2 separate regions of the Homo sapiens genome follow, and region 1 is linked to region 2. The links are contacts of gene promoters, found by promoter capture Hi-C in blood cells and fetal thymus (Javierre and others, 2016). All regions are on one chromosome and are shown on one strand. The core of a region is centred on a gene start or on the middle of the fragment in contact, and the rest is flanking DNA. Distances in the headings are between cores, read along the strand shown. Region 1 overlaps PTK2 (protein tyrosine kinase 2). Region 2 holds the start of DENND3 (DENN domain containing 3).

Region 1 (3,282 bases), core at 467-2,966, 460 kb before region 2:
CTCATAGATTCAGGAGAAACTGCAGCAGCCTCAATTCCTGAGCCCGGCCCCTCAATATCCTTGAGATCCACTTCATCATCTAGCCATAATGCTATCATAAAGATTCCTGACTTGGGGCTGAGTTTAAAGATATTAGGCCCAGCCTGGCCAACATGGTCAAACCCTGTCTCTACTAAAAATACAAAAATTAGCAGGGTAATGGTAGTGCATCCCTGTAATCCCAGCTACTCGGGAGGCTGAGGCAGGAGAGTCATTTGAACCTCGGAGGCAGAGGTTGCAGTGAGCTGAGATTGTGCCACTGTACTCCAGCCTGGGTGACAGAGCGACACTGTGTCTCAAAAAAAAAAAAAAAAAAAAAAAAAAACAACAACACACACACACACACACACACACACACACACACACACACACACACACACATTGGGAGCTTATTTTAAAAACAAAAAACAAAAGTAGAACAGAAACCCCTTTTTTGAGCTGATTCTTATGATTAGGTTCTACTACTTGAAACTGAACAGTTTTATTTAATGTGTTTTCTCTAAAGCTCAAGCCAGGGCGCTATCCTACTATAACCACACCATTTCCAAGAGATGACTTCCTGTATTTTATTTTCTGCACTGAGAGTCACAGTGTGGTCTTCTGTTTAACTTCATAGGATGTACCAGTTCAAACTACATCAACAGGGCTTCTTGAGGAGGGGGCCACAGGGTGTTTCATCAAGAAGAAATAGACAATTCTGTAATTCTAGGGAGGTTGTCACCTGTTTAAAGCTTCTGTTCCTTTCTACTTTACCCTTTGCCCAATTATTGTGGTAGAGGGGCACTGTCATAATGCTTCTAGGGACCATTCACAGTGACATTCCAGAAGGGAAAGCTGTTTGGAAAGACATCCTAATGGTTTTCTATTTTCTGGAGCTTGACAACTTGGAAGCTCCTTGGCAGGCAGTTGATAAACCCTCTATAGATGTAGCCAATTCCAACCACTTAGGTTGATGCTTAAAGACTCAGTTAAGAACCAAAATGCAGTGCTACCTAGGAAAAATTGAGACTGATTTTGGCTGTTATTTGGATGAATTATTTTAGTTATACATAAAAGTAAATATTTTAGTATTAGTTTTTTTTAGGCAGAATCTCGCTCTGTCGCCCAGGCTGGAGTGCAGTAGTGTGATCTCAGCTCACCACAACCACCGCCTCCTGGATTCCAGCGATTCTTGTGCCTCAGCCCCCTGAGCAGCTGGAATTATAGGGTCACACTACTATGCACAGCTAATGTTTGTATTTTTAGTAGAGACAGGGTTTTGCCATGTTGGCCAGGCTGGTCTGGTACTCTTGGTCTCAAGCAATCCACTTGCCTTGGCCTCTCAGTGTTGGAATTACAGGCGTGAGCCACTGTGCCTAGCTGCATTGCAGTATTAGAACAATACTGTTCTTTTAGGATGGATTCAATGACCTCTACCAAGCAGACAATGAAGAAACAGAGGTGTATATTTCATGTTATTTAAAAATCTACTTAGGTCGGGTGCGGTGGCTCATGCCTGTAATCCCAGCACTTTGGGAGGCCGAGGCGGGCGGATCACAAGGTCAGGAGATCAAGACCATCCTGGCTAACACGGTGAAACCCCGTCTCTACTAAAAATACCCAAAAAAAAAAAAAAAAAAAAAAATTAGATGGGCCTGGTGGCGGGTGCCTGTAGTCCCAGCTACTTGGGATGATGAGGCAGGAGAATGGCGTGAACCCGGGAGGCGGAGCTTGCAGTGAGCCAAGATCGCACCACTGCACTCCAGCCTGGGCAACAGAGTGAGACTCTGTCTCAGGGGGGCGGGGGGCGGGAATCTTTACTTAATATATTTTAAGTACACATATTATTTTCAAGATTTCAATTTGCTTCATACCCTATCCTAATTGTATGTATTCATTATGTTATTCCAGCTGTGAAAGATGTTTCATAATGATGTCAGAATTCTAAGGTGGTACCGATCTACCTGTAAAGTTGGTTTTTCATTGTAATACAAGCCATTTTGAAAGTCTGTTCTTTTGGCTTATGAAAATAAATAATTCATTAATCTCATTCTGTCCCCTTTTCTTTTTTTAAAGAGATGGGGTCTCACTATGTTGCGCAGGCCAGATTCAAACTTCTGGGCTGAAGTGATCCTCCTTCCTCAGCCTCCCGAGTAGCTGGGACTATAGTCATAGAGGTGCGCCACCATGTCTGGCTCCTTTTTAGAAATTTATTGAAAGAAGCCAATATTGGGAAGGGTGTGTCCTTCCTCAATTTTCCTTGGAGAAGACTCAGTGTGTCTTTAACAGAACTGTCAGGAGGCATCCTGGGGCTTGGAGGCCTGGTGAACTGAGGAAGTTCCTGATTCCCAGGCACTTAAAAGCCACTGGCATGAACTCTGGGCACCAACCCTAAGGGCAGAGGCATCCCTAGCCCAGTTGGTACTTTCACTATGGCCACAGAGGGCAGGCTTGGCCACAGAGAGCAGGCTAGTTTGTGCCAGTGGCTGCCCATTCACCCTCTGGTCACCTCCTCAATGAACACTGGCAAACCTGTGCCCTCTAAGCTGCAGGCTATCCCTCTGGGCCTGGAGATGACATTTTTTCTTACCCTGGACTAACTTTCTGATGACTCTGAGAAGACAACAATGTATCTACATCTAACGAAGCTTCAGCTTTGGAGGCGAGTGCCTTTGAGTCAAGTATGTGCTCAGCCAAGCCTGCGGCCAAGCACAGCTCAGCTATGTGGAGGCTGTGTAACCTTGAACAAACTGCTTAATCTCTGTGAGCCTTGGTCAACTGAGAAATGATACCACCACCAGTCCTGTGAGGTTCACATGAGAACTGATAATACATGAAAAAGGACTGCCACAGAACTTGGTAAAGGGATGACAGTCAATAAATGGTGGTTATTGGTAAAGCAAAGTTTATCTTAACCTGATATGACATTTTTCGGATTTTAAGATGTCTTCCACTATAAGATGCATCCTTTTTTTTTTTTTTAACCTCGAGACGGAATCTTGCTCTGTCGCCCAGGCTGGAGTGCAATGGCATGATCTTGACTCATTGCAACCTCCACCTCCTGGGTTCAAGTGATTCTCCTGCCTCAGCCACCTGAGTAGCTGGGATTGCAGACATGCACCACCACGCCCAGCTAATTTCTTTGTATTTTTAGTAGAGACGGGGTTTCACCATGTTGGCCAGGCTGGTCTTGAACTCCTGACCTTGTGATCCGCCCGTCTTGGCCTCCCGAAATGCTGGGATTACAGGCATGAGCCACCACAC
Region 2 (2,700 bases), core at 1-2,500:
CCTCAGCTCACCGATGAGAGCCACCGATGGTAGGCAGCCTCCAGGCCTGGGGGAGAACCAGCAGATCCTCACCATCTTTAGGTTAATAAGTGAAATAAAACCTGTGAGTCAGGCTGCAGTCACGGCCTCACCCGGCTCAGGGAAGGAGGGAGAAATTCCTCAGGGCTCCCTTTTCTGATGTTGCCTTGCTTTGTACTTACTGTTCCTTTTCCTGTTCAGCTGATGACAGATGTTTGACATTAAGCATTTTAGAGTTTTGTTTTTTAGAAAATAGAATCATAGATTATCAGAAGTGGAAGTCCCTTTGGAATAATTTCCCCTGGGTTACACAGATGGCTATGGCAGGGTCAAGGGAGGGGACGGTCAGCGGGGACTGAGCGCAGGCCCCCTCCAGGCTCTGCAGCAATGACCAGGCAGCAAGCCGGCCTCCCGGGCTTGTGGGCTGTCCTCTTTCTCTGGGGTCAGCCTGAGGCTGGAAGAGGCCCGTGGCCCACCGGGCATCAGGCCAAGCCTGGAGCTGACCAGGGAAGGGCCCTGCCAGGCCTTGGGCCTCTGACCCTCAGTCCTGAAGCCTCCCTCTAGCGGCGCCCACCCTGCTCCTTTTCCTGCTGAATTTTACTCAAGTCCGTACTTGAGTATGGCCGGCCCTAGGTTAACCCCGCAGAGTTATTAACCAGGAGTGGCTCTTTCCACCCCCCCTTCCCGCCGGCCCTTCCTGCTGTCCACACCCGGCCAACTCCACTGTCCTGGCAAGGGAGGGCTTCCTGGAGGCGGCAGCGGGCGGCGCGTCCGGCCTTTGTCCCCCCACGCTCTCCAGGGTAGGTCCAGGGACTGCCAGATCAGGGGACCCTTTGCGTCCTGGAGCCTTGGGGGCTGGATGACGTCGCCGGGCACCTGAGGACCCCGCCCATTCCTCCCTCGGTTCCCCAGGGAGCGGGCGGCCGGCGGGGCTGGGCGGGGCCGAAGGAAGGGGCCGCTTGCTCCGACGCCGCGCACGCGCCAGGGCCCGCAGGCGGGTTAGGAAATGACGACCGCGCGCGGGTCTCCAGCAGCACCCGCCCTAGGACCGGCCCCGCCCCCAAGTCCCGGTCCCTAGGGCCGGGCACGCCACTCCAGGCCCCGCCCAGAACCTCCCCGCCCAGTCAAGCCCCGCCCCCAAACTCTGTCTCCCCGCGGTATCCTCTGGGGCTCTCCAGGCCCCGCCTCGGCTCGGGCCCCGCCCCTCCAGGCCCCGCCTCCAGCCCCGCCCCGCAGACGGCGCTCGCAGCGCCCCCGGCCCCCAGGCGGCGCGGCTGGTCCCCAGGGGTCTGCGGGCGACTGCGCGGCTGAGGCGCCCGAGTGCGGTACTGGCGGCGGGCGGCGGGCAGCCATGGCGGAGGCCGCGTCGCCGCACTTGTCGCTGCCCTCGGGGCTGCTGGAGCTCTGCGCGCTGCTGGGCGCCCCCCGGGACAGTCTCCGAAGTCTCGAGCAGGTGAGGGGCGGGGAAACTGAGGCGGACGTGGGCCACGAGTCGGCAGCCGGGACAGCAGTCGGAGAGCGGGCGCCCGGGTGCCCTGTGGGTTGGCGCGGACTTTCCGAGGGCTGAGTCCCGGTCCCCCGGCGGTGACCCCGCGCGCCTGTGGCCGGGGATCGCGCCCGAGCTCAGGCAGGTGCCCTGGAGCAGCGCCCTGCTCCCCTCCCCTCTTCTCTCCTCTCCCCGCCCGGGGCCCTTGGTGTGAGACATGTCTTTTGAGAGCTGCGAACTTGGTCCGCCGGCCGGGAATCTGGGGGTGCCGCCCCTCGGAGAGTCTCTGGGGCCTCTCTCTTCAGTCGCTCCCATCTTGGGCAGGTGCTTCTGAAGGTGGGGTGCACCAGACAACGGGCGGAAGCCGCCGGAGCCTCACGGTCTAGCGGGCCCAGCCCTCGCTGCTGAAATGATTTCATTCTTTATGCTGGGATGTGTTGTCCCCTGAGTAGTGGGTTTTGCACCAGGCACAGAATAACGAGAGAGCAATCTTAGAGTTAGCCGCCGGCCTCGCGTATTCTGCATGAACCCCTTTGCGATGAAGCCTATAGCTATTTTTCTCCCTTGCGGTACCACCCCCACCCCCAACCCTTCCTCCATCTCTGCACCCTCGCAGCCAAAGTGACAACTTCATCTCCCTTCTGCTGGGAAAGCGGCAGTTTTGGAAATTCTCGTTTTCCTTTTTCTTCCCCAGCTTTTCTTAATTCTGTAACGCTGGCTTTCCCTGGAATCCATCTGTGTCTCTGGTTTCCTCCTGGTCCGCCTGTCTGTGACACCGTGACTGGGTCATGTTACCTAGAGATCCCGGCGTCACTGGCCAGCCGTCTGCACAGGTCCGTTCATCTCTTTGCAGACAACAGCATAGAAAGGCAGAGAGGCTTCTGAGTATTTAAATGACGCTGGGCTATCCAGGGAAAATGAAGACTGCAGGGCAGAGGGTGTCACCAGGAAAGGCAGATGTTCCTGCAAGTAACCAGATGAATGTCTGTGAGTGTCCGGGGAGTTTCCCCTGCTGGGCGTCAGTACCAAGCCAGTTTCGACTTCAGTGAAAAAGCATTCTCCTATGGAAATAGTTTCCTCGTTTCCCTCAACTTTTCCTTCCCTTCAACGCCCTGTCATGTCAGTAGATCCCGTTTGACCTCTGTCTCCTCGCAACGTCATCGATTGATTTGTCTCCCTACCTCGAATTTGCCAGA

Evidence for each region. The method cuts DNA at HindIII sites, captures the fragments that hold promoters and counts their contacts. A CHiCAGO score of 5 or more calls a contact.
Region 1: a contact is called between a fragment that was not itself captured here and the fragment with the promoter of DENND3 in region 2, in 2 of 17 cell types (erythroblasts and endothelial precursors). The highest score is 7.6, in erythroblasts.

Annotation. Positions count from the first base shown.
Region 1 is chr8:140,670,120-140,673,401 of GRCh38, forward strand. All of the region lies in intron 32 of PTK2 (protein tyrosine kinase 2), which reads right to left. Among named protein-coding and RNA genes, the nearest start is that of AGO2, 36 kb to the left of the region's middle. The HindIII fragment of the contact is 1,896 bases long and covers 769-2,664 here.
Region 2 is chr8:141,127,339-141,130,038 of GRCh38, forward strand. It overlaps DENND3 (DENN domain containing 3), which reads left to right and starts at 1,251. Exons shown (of 23, transcript NM_001352890.3): 1 at 1,251-1,471. The coding sequence starts at 1,370. It overlaps DENND3-AS1 (DENND3 antisense RNA 1), which reads right to left. Exons shown (of 2, transcript NR_183310.1): 1 at 2,686-2,700. RefSeq lists enhancers at 1-678, 1,512-2,342 and a silencer at 797-1,656. The HindIII fragment of the contact is 7,380 bases long and covers 1-2,700 here.